Regions from separate parts of the Homo sapiens genome. Here all the other regions are linked to region 3. The links are contacts of gene promoters, found by promoter capture Hi-C in human tissues and cell types (Jung and others, 2019). All regions are on one chromosome and are shown on one strand. The core of a region is centred on a gene start or on the middle of the fragment in contact, and the rest is flanking DNA. Distances in the headings are between cores, read along the strand shown. Region 1 holds the start of TRR-CCT3-1 (tRNA-Arg (anticodon CCT) 3-1). Region 2 overlaps CLUAP1 (clusterin associated protein 1). Region 3 holds the start of TIGD7 (tigger transposable element derived 7).

Region 1 (3,249 bases), core at 733-3,232, 150 kb after region 3:
TGATTGGGGAGGATCACTTGAACCTGGGAGGTCGAGGCTGCAGTGAGCAGTGATCACACCACTGCACTCCAGCCTGGGTGACTGAGTGAGACCCTGTCTCAAAAAAACAAAAAAACAAAAACAAAAACAAAAAAAACATAGCTGATGGTTTCCTGACTGCTACCTGGACATTGGTTTGGTAACAAATTTTGGCTTCAATGCAGTGCTGAGGTCCTTACCAATGGAACGTGAGATGACATAATTCACAGTATACAACAGCATCGTGATCAGGCAATGCGTGGCCTGGTTGATTATGAGGAGTTGCAGGCTGAAGCAAGTGCCCTGGGTGACCAGTGGCTGCTGTGCCTGATTGTTGCAGCACAGGTGACCACACAGACTTTCGTTAGTTCATGGCGTGGAAAGAAGTCTTCTGAAGGCCCTGGTTTGCTTACAGAAAGAAGATGACAAGATCAGGTCTCTAAACTTTTAGACTAAGTCAAGTTCAGAGACGCAGGGACAATTTATGGCAACCATACAATAACCTTAAAGCCACAAGGCTGACATTGCTAAAAATCAAACATGTCATTTAACTAGGCATGTTGCAGAATGGCAACGTAAATTGAATTCACAGCCTTAGGAAATCTTTGGTGTGAAAGATACTGCATTGATTAGGCAGAAGTGGTGACATCAGATTGGACTCAAAATTGAGAATCTTGAACTACAAAGGTTGACCTTGGAGAAAACAGCCTACATGACAAAACAAAACAGAAACAAAACAAGTTTGGCTACTTTAAGCCATCATAAGGAGGATGGGATATGATTTTGTATCTGGTGAATTTATCCATCTGGGTGCATATCCCAAAGAGCCTATAGTTAATATGTTATCTCATGCAGCTGACCATGGCCCTACCAGGTTTCTTGGTTGGTTGGCTGAAAATTGAACTCAGTGGTGGCCTATGTTTAATGAGACCGGGCTGCCAGAACGTCTCAGGCAAACTGTAGAGAAAGAAACCTAAAGACACCAAGCAATGTTGGAGTGCATCTTTCACGCATGATGTGCATACCACTGAGAAGACCAGAGGACACTCCCTTTCTTTCTTTCTTTCTTTTTCTCTTTTCTCTTTTTTTTGAGACGGAGTCTTACTCTGTCGCCCAGGCTGGAGTGCAGTGGCACGACCTCAGCTCACTGCAACCTCTGCCTCCCGGGTTCAAGCGATTCTTCTGCCTCAGCCTCCCAAGTAGCTGGGACTACAGGCGAGCGCCACCACACCCGGCTAATTTTTGTATTTTTAGTAGAGATGGGGTGTCACCATATTGGCCTGGCTGCTCTAGAACTCCTGACCTCGTGATCCGCCTGCCTCGGCCTCCCAAAGTGCTGGGATTACAGGTGTGAGCTACCGCACCAGGCCAGGACACTCCCTTTCACAAGGCCTCCCGAAAAAATCCATCACTGAAGCATCAGCTTCCTTAAGTAGCTCTCTGGTGGCCATTCTCTACAGGTGGCCTATGATGGTGGAAGGTAATGCCATTGAGGTGTGGAAGGTAACGCCACTGAGGTGTGGAAGGTAACCCCATTGAGGTGTGGAAGGTAACCCCATTGAGGTGAGGAAGGTAATGCCATTGAGGTGAGGAAGGTAATGCCATTGAGATGTGGAAGGTAACCCCATTGAGGTGAGGAAGGTAACCCCATTGAGGTGTGGAAGGTAATGCCATTGAGGTGAGGAAGGTAACCCCATTGAGGTGTGGAAGGTAATGCCATTGAGGTGAGGAAGGTAACCCCATTGAGGTGAGGAAGGTAATGCCATTGAGGTGAGGAAGGTAACCCCATTGAGGTGTGGAAGGTAACGCCATTGAGGTGAGGAAGGTAACCCCATTGAGGTGAGGAAGGTAACGCCATTGAGGTGAGGAAGGTAATGCCATTGAGGTGAGGTCCCTGATTTCAGTGGAGATGATGGGGTCCAGGATGTTTGGGGAACTGGGAGAAGCCAGGCCAGAGCTGGAAAAACAGAAGAGTCCCAATTATGAGTTTTATTTATTTATTTATTTATTTTGAGACGGAGTCTCTGTCACCCAGGCTGGAGTGCAGTGGCGCGATCTCCGCTCACTGCAACCTCCACCTCCCGGGTTCAAGTGATTCTCCTGCCTCAGTCTCCTGAGGAGCTGGGATTACAGGCGCGTGCCCCCACGCCCGGCTAATTTTTCTATTTTTAGTAGAGACGGGGTTTCACCGTGTTGGTCAGGCTGGTGCGTGATCGTGATCCGCCCGCCTCGGCCTCCCAAAGTGCTGGGATTACAGGCGGGAGCCACTGCGCCCGGGCCAATTATTGGTTTTAAAGGCAAAAGCCAACCATGTTTTTATACATATTTATGACAAAACTCCAGCAGTGGTCCCCATCAGAGCGGCTTCTGATTTTACTTTACACCATGTCCTGTAGTTCGGGAAATTTTTACCTTGAAGATGGCATCATATATTGCATGGATTTAAAAAAAGAATACTATGGACTATTTCAAATATGTATTAAAAGAGAGAAAATAGTGCAATGTCCCCTCATGTCCCCCATTATCTACTCATGGATAAGTAGTTTCATCTATACCGCCATCCATCTTATGATTTCTTTTTTTTTTTTTTTGAAACGGAGATTACAGGCTGGGATTACAAGTTTAAGCCAGCGCACCTGGCCTCAGTTTTATGATTTTTAAAACAAACCAGTTGTCTTGTAATTTAATCTGTAAATAATTGTGTTTATAAAAAAAAGGATTTAAAAAATATTTGTAACCATAATAGAATTAACAAACCTGGAAAAATAAACAATCATTCCTTTCTATCAAGTTAAATGGATGGTACTTAACATCCTGTAAAAGATTCGGCTCCTTTTTTCTGTAACGTGAAATTGTGCTCGTCTTCCTTGAAAACAGGTAGAGGTTTCTGATTTAGAGCCTTTTTGGTAACCCTTCGGAAACTCCGCACCTCCACTGGAGTATACCGCATTCTAACTCTTCTGCCCGATAAGGAACACTAAAATTCGGCCTTTCTTTACCCCGGGTGGGACTCGAACCCACAATCCCTGGCTTAGGAGGCCAATGCCTTATCCATTAGGCCACCGGGGCGGATAACAAAACGCTGTCGCTTGTCTTAGACCAGTTTCTCCATCACTCCGCGGTGGTTCCTGCACAGCCTGCCCGTCCTACCCTGGCCTTTCTCCCGCCCCTCCACTGCAATCCAAGCTTCGGTTCAGATCTCGTCCGCTCCTGAGCATCCTCGGGACCCCA
Region 2 (3,341 bases), core at 169-2,668, 220 kb before region 3:
TGGCTGAACAGAGGACAGGCTCAGCTCACCTCAAACCTTTCTTGCTCCATCCTATGATGGTCTTCAAGCTGTTGTTCCAGATAAGTCAGATTTTGAAATTTCTCCAGATAAGTGTCATACTGCTTTTGTAATTCTTCCTCAGTCTTCTCATACTCATCCATAAAACATGGCCTAAAAGAAGCAAATGAAATAAAAAGGAAAGGTGAATTATATGCAGTAGTTTGAAATGGGTATTCACAGTTTCAGATTCCATGGTGGCTTTCTCTGGAAACCCTTAATTAGAGAAGGTCCTTCATTCTTGTAATGCTTAAAAATATTTTCCCTTTTCTGCTTTCTCCCCCCAAAATGAACATACTTCTTTTTCATCATAAATAAGATGTGCTCTTTGTAAAAACTTGAAATAATCCTGAAAGTATGAAGAATGACGTAAAAATTACTGATAATCCCATCACCAGGTATAAGCGCTTGATAGTTGACATACATCCTTCCAGACTTTTCTATGCATAAATATAGATAGGAATGCATTTAAAAAAAAAATTAAATATACCAAGAAATTTTATAATCTTTATTTCATTTCAATATACCGTAATCTCAATAGAGTTAAAAATGATCAGGCTGGGTGCATCGGCTCACACCTGTAACCCTAGCACTTTGGGAGGCTGAAGTAGGAGGAGGATTGAGCCCTGGAGTTCAAGGCTGCAGTGAGTGAGGATCCTCTGACCTTGCCGTGGCACTCCAGCCCTCCAGCCTGGGTGACACATTGAGACCCCATCTCTAAAGGCAAAAAAATCACATACCAGACACATCTCTCCAAATCAATAAATATATATATTATTATCTTATTTGGGTATAATGTTCTACTGTTGGCCGGGTGCGGTGGCGCACGCCTGTAATCCCAGCACTTTGGGAGACTGAGGCGGGTGGATCAACTGAGGTCAGGAGTTTCAGACCAGCCTGGCCAACATGGTGAAACCTCGTCTCTACTAAAAATACAAACATTAGCCAGGCGTGGTGGCACATGCCTGTAATCCCAGCTACTCGGGTGGCTGAGGCAGGAGAACTGCTTGAACCTGGGAGGTGGAGGTTGCAGTGAGCCGAGATTGCGCCACTGCACTCCAGCCTAGGCAACACAGAGAGACTCCATCTCAAAAGAAATAATAATAATAATAATAATGTTCTACTGTCAGGATATTATAAATTTAAAGCAATCCTCTAAAAAGGGGACCACAGGTTGTTACGAATTAAGGCTGGTGGTTTTTTTTTGTTTGTTGAGACAGGGTCTCACTTTGTCACCCAGGCTACAGTGCAGTGGTGTGATCATGGCTTACTGCAGCATCGAACGCCTGGGCTCAGGTGATCCTCCTGTCTCAGGCCCCCAAGTAGCTGGGACTACAGACATGTGCCACTATGCCCAGCTATTTTTTATATTTTTTTTTTGTAGAGATGGGGTTTCGCCATATTGCCCAGGCTGGTCTTGAACCCCTGAGTTCAAGCGATCTGCCCGCCTTGGCCTCTCAAAGTGCTGGGATTATAGACGTGAATCACTGTGCCCAGTCTAAAGAGGTTTTTAAACGATAAAAAATTTTTTAAAAAGGCCAGGCGTGATGATGACTCATGCCTGTAATCCCAGCACTTTGGGAGGCCAAGGCAGGTGGATCACAAGGTCAGGAGTTCAAGACCAGCCTGGCCAACATGGTGAAACTCCGTCTCTACTAAAAATACAAAAATTAGCTGGGCGTGGTGGCGGCCGCCTGTAATCCCAGCTACTTGAGAGGCTGAGGCAGGAGAATCGCTTGAATCCGGGAGGCAGAGTTTGCAGTGAGCCGGGATCGCGCCATTGCACTCCAGCCTCGGCAACAAGAGCGAAACTCCAACTCAAAAAAAAAAAACAAAAACAAAAAAAACCATAAAAATCTATACTGGTTTGCTGAACTTTTTCTTTTTTCTTATTATTGACCTTAAAGGGAAAATTCTACTCTTTTAAAAATATAAGCAGATAAACTCAGAAATAATTATAATCTTTTGAACTAGAGCAAAACAAAGAGACTTTTCTGTTAAAATGATTTGGAGCTTAACAAAAATGAATTGATGCTTTAAAAGTGGAATGTGTCAAGGAGATCAATCTATATGGCGGCAATGACTTCTGTTTTTTTTTTTTTCCCTCTCTGAGGCTCCAGAGGTAAAGAGCCAGTTTCAGGAGGGGAAGGGCCTTGGCCTTGCGCTGGGCAGGGAGGAGCCAGGGCGCTCCCTGTGGTTGCTGTCGCTGCCTCCAGGTGCTGCCTCCCCACAGACCTCGGGACAGTGGGCAGGGTGTAGCCAGCCACCAACATCCAAAAAGGCAAAACATCCGAGCAGAGTAGGCAGCTGGGAAGAGGAGGGAGCCAAGAAGAAAGAAAAATAAAGGGTGAATGAAAAGGGAGAAAGAGCAGAAGCATGGGGGAGGGAAAGAGGCACAGAACGAGGAAGAGAAGAGAGAGAGAGCCGGCACCACTATTCTCCATCGGTATTCCTGGGAAATATATTTCCAATGAGGTAACGTAGGAAGAAAGATGAATTACTGACTGGTGAGGAATGATCAAGGTTTAAATAAAGTCTAAAATCTATGCCAACAAACAGGCAGGAGTATGTTTCTGTTTCTACCTAATTTATGGCAAGATCTTAGGAGACCACGTCTGGATTTCCCCGTCTGGATTCACTTACTCTGCCTTGAGTTCCAAGAAGCTATAAAAGCTTAAAGGGCAGTTCAAGCTTTAAGCAGTTTTCCAGACATACCGCAAGCAGTAAAGAGAATGAGTTTAGCCATCTGCTTGTTATGACAGGCAACACATGTACATTTGAGGTGAAGATACCCTTATGTAAGGCTTTTTTTCATTGCTTGAGAAGAGTTAAGATCACATTCTATTCTCTTAAGTCTTTGTTCTAACTTTTTTTTTCTTTTAGAGTCAGGGCCTTGTTCTGTTACTCGGCCTTGTTCTGTGGCTCAGGCTGGAGTGCAGTGATGCAACCATAGCTCACTGCAGCCTCAACCTCCTGGGCTCAAGCAATCCTCCCGCCTCAGCCTCCCAAGTAGCTGGGACTACAGGTGTGTATCACCATACTGAGGTAATTTTTAAAAATTTTTAGAGATGGGGTTTCATTATGCTGCCCAGGCTGGTCTCAAACTCCTGGGCTCAAGAGAACCCCCCGCCCCAGCTTCATGAGTAGCTGAGATTTCAGACATGAGCCACCACGCCCAGTTTGTTTGAACTTTCCAGGACATCTTTCTACTCATTCTCCAAGTGTTCATATCTACCTGACACTCTGCAGAGTCTCTAGTCGCTTCCGATTTCTTTCCAGTTCTA
Region 3 (3,330 bases), core at 276-2,775:
AAGTTATTTAAAACTTATGAACTGTTTATTTCTGGAGTTTTCCATTTAATATTTTTTGGATGGCAGTTGACAGCGGGTAAGTGAAACCCAGATACAGTGGGGGGAGGGGGTACTACAGAAAGTAAAAAAGTAGCCTATTTTCAGACAATGTCTCCCAAGTAAGCAACAAGATGCTCATCATTCTTTGCAACACACATAAAGGGTGCCATGCAGATGATTTATACGAATTTTGTTTTTTTTTTTGAGATGGAGTCTCGCCCTGTCACCCAGGCTGGAGTGCAGTGGCGTGATCTCAGCTCACTGCAACTTCCACCTCCCCGGTTGAAGCCATTCTCCTGCCTCAGCCTCCCGACTAGCTGGGATTACAGGCGCGTGCCACCATGCCCGGCTAATTTTTGTGTTTTTAGTAGAGACAGGGTTTCACCATCTTGGCCAGGGTGGTCTCGATCTCCTGACCTCGTGATCCACCCATCTTGGCCTCCCAAAGTGCTGGGATTACAGGCGTCAAACACCGCGCCAGGCCTATATGAATTTTTAACTGTGCTTACTTGATCTGGAGAAAATTACAGCTGACCTCTGTTTACAAAATATCAACTTGTAAAAAAGGATATTTTATTTACAAAATATCAAGTCGTATTTTCTTTCTGTCGCTGATGTTTATGAAATATCAACTCCAACAGGAGTTGGTGACGATGAAAGTGAAACTTTCTGCTGACTTTGTATTTCTCCAAAGGTCATTTAGACTTCTAAGGGGGGCTGAGGAGAGCCGTGAGCCTCACTTTTCCTGAAGTGAGCCAGCAGAAACGGCACCGAAATTCTGCCCAGGATGCCACCGGTATTCAAAGAAGTGGCCAGCTCCTTGCTGCCCACCCCGGTTCCAGAAGCAAAGAGACACTTCCTATGTTTTTGCATCAGTAGAAGCTGCTAGCCCTGAGGCTCAACCGACCGCATGACATCGGCCGGACACGGAAATGCCGGCGGAGGCGGGAAAGAGTCTGCGGGCGCAGCTGCAGGCACTGCTGCCCGCCAGCACTCGGATTCGCCACAGCCTGTGTCTGCGACAGGCGTGCCCGTGGGCACTGGGCAAGCGGGCAGTGTCCCAGCGAGCTTCAGCCGCGCCTCTGGGATACAGCTGCGAAAAGCGGGGAGAGAATGGTTTCTCGTGCCCGACGGTGGCCCCGCCTCAGGCTCCAGCCGCGCGGCCCGGAAGCGCCGCGGCCACCGCCTACGGAAAATGGCTGCCTCCCTGCGGCCGCCGCCGCTCCAGCGGCTCCAGGGTCGAAGCCATAGGGGAAGCCGCTTCTCGGTTACCTCGGCCAGCTTGGCTTCCGTGGAGGCCGCTCCTCGCTTTCTGAGGCTCAAACGCAAGCCACCGCCCGAAAGGCCGCCGATCTGAGGAGCGCAACCGCCAGCCCACCGCTGGCCTACCGCAGCCCTGTCCAGGTACAGAGCCAGAGCGCCGGCCGGAAGTGGAAGTGACGCTTTCCGAGGGTGGCGCAGGCCCGCCCTCTGGCTAAGGCGCCTGAGCCCGGCCTACTTCCTCGCCAGAGAAACTGCTGTCTTCCCCGGCGGTAGGGAAGGGTTAATGCCACCGAGTATCCAGACCCGCTGAAGCCTAGAGGGCCTTGTACCGGCTCACCGCGTGGCTGTCGCTGTCTCGTGTCCCCAGTGGGGGAGGCGTCGCACTGCCGCGTCTGTTCTGCGTGGCTGTCGGGCGGCGTTTGGTCCCGGGAGCCTCGCCGGGTAAGGGTCGCCTCCCAGCTGCGCGCGCCGCGTTCTCGGGCTTCCCGCGGCCCGGCCGGCCGTGCTCGAGCTGTTGCTGGGCTCGTCGCCGCCTCCTCGAGGAAGAGGCATTTTGTCCGGGTCGGGCCACTCGCTAGGTCAGAAACAGCGGCCCCCCGAGGGTTTTGTACCGTTTTCTAGGTCTCGTGACGCATTCCCCACAACTATTTTTTCTTGAGGTAGGTTTGAACCTGTGAAATAGGTTCTTTTTCTATCTCTCCTTGACAGAGAAACGGAGACCTAAGAAGTGACTTGCTCAGGGTCACATAGCTCAGCAGTGGCGGCCGCTAATCGGAAATAGCTCTCCTGTTGTGGTATCCTCTGCGTTTTCCACTCCAGTATTCTTCCCTGGAAAATGGGAACCTTGTTTTCATCTTATATCTCATGCAGCGCCTAACATAGTCACCTGGTAAGATAGGCATTCCACACATATTTACTGAATCATAGTTATAAGAATCTGAGTGTTTTGGGTGTTCAGTGATCTCTGAATTAATCCGTTTTTGTAATGTCAGTCTGTACCAGTTGAGGGATTATTTAATAAGTCCAGTATGAGTGGTTTCGGAATTACCAGTTTTTGTAACGTCAGCTTATACCAGTCAAGGGACTATTTATTAAGTCAGCTATGTGTAGCCAATATTGCAGAGTTGAGTAAGAAGTCTTTGTCCTTAAGCAATCTCTTGAAAGGACTGAGCAATTTCGTGAATATCAGTAACACAAGGGTAAGAATAGGACATAAACTGAATGCTGTGAGAACTCCAAGAAAATCCAAGTTGATTTGGGGTTGGGGGAAATTATAAAAGACCTTGAGGGATTTTGTCCACAGCAGGGAATGGAGACACTTTCCAGGCAGAGGGAAGGGTAGGAGTAAAGGCTTTAAAAGCTGGAAACATTAGACTGTGAGATCTTAGGTACGTTTTTACTGAGTTGGGCTGCATTTAGAGGAAGAGTTTTAAAAGTTAGAAAACGAGTTTATGTGGCACTTATACTGGAGTCCTTTGAATGGGAATGAAAAGAGTGCATTTAAGAAAGTAAATCCTGGCCGGGCGCGGTGGCTTACGCCTGTAATCCCAGCACTTTGGGAGGCCGAGGCGGGCGGATCATGAGGTCAGGAGATCGAGACCATCCTGGCTAACATGGTGAAACCCCGTCTCTACTAAAAAATACAAAAAAAAATTAGCCGGGCGTGGTGGTGGGCGCCTGTAGTCCCAGCTACTCGGGAGGCTGAGGCAGGAGAATGGCGTGAACCCGGGAGGCGGAGCTTGCAGTGAGCCGAGTTCACGCCACTGCATTCCAGCCTGGGCGACAGAGCGAGACTCCGTCGCAAAAAACAAAACAAAACAATACAAAAAAGTAAATCCTGGAGCACCATTTGAGCGTTTTGGACTGAGCTGCTTTCTATGGCAGTTCATCTAAGGTAAGTTTAAGGTGAGAATGAAGATGAGAGGCCATTACCAGGCCATTATGCTATTTTTGCTTTTGGATGGGATGGTATGTAACTCCTCTTAGGCATAGATCTTGATCCTTTTTAAGTGAGAGAGAAAGATAAAC

The links. The method cuts DNA at HindIII sites, captures the fragments that hold promoters and counts their contacts. A contact is called where the count stands out against the background at its distance.
Region 1: a fragment that was not itself captured here is called in contact with the fragment with the promoter of TIGD7 in region 3 in 1 of the 25 tissues and cell types used here (spleen).
Region 2: a contact is called between a fragment that was not itself captured here and the fragment with the promoter of TIGD7 in region 3, in 1 of the 25 tissues and cell types used here (bladder).

The regions. Positions count from the first base shown.
Region 1 is chr16:3,152,738-3,155,986 of GRCh38, reverse strand. TRR-CCT3-1 (tRNA-Arg (anticodon CCT) 3-1) reads right to left here and starts at 3,087; the gene lies at 3,015-3,087. RefSeq lists a silencer at 2,920-3,059. The HindIII fragment of the contact is 9,846 bases long and covers 1-3,249 here.
Region 2 is chr16:3,519,988-3,523,328 of GRCh38, reverse strand. CLUAP1 (clusterin associated protein 1) reads right to left here. Exons shown (of 12, transcript NM_015041.3): 7 at 3,293-3,341; 8 at 30-171. Among named protein-coding and RNA genes, the nearest start is that of CLUAP1, 21 kb to the right of the region's middle. The HindIII fragment of the contact is 3,871 bases long and covers 1-3,341 here.
Region 3 is chr16:3,303,625-3,306,954 of GRCh38, reverse strand. TIGD7 (tigger transposable element derived 7) reads left to right here and starts at 1,525. Exons shown (of 2, transcript NM_033208.4): 1 at 1,525-1,743. It overlaps ZNF75A (zinc finger protein 75A), which reads right to left and starts at 1,458. Exons shown (of 7, transcript NM_001302109.2): 1 at 1,312-1,458. RefSeq lists an enhancer at 1,435-1,964. The HindIII fragment of the contact is 22,904 bases long and covers 1-3,330 here.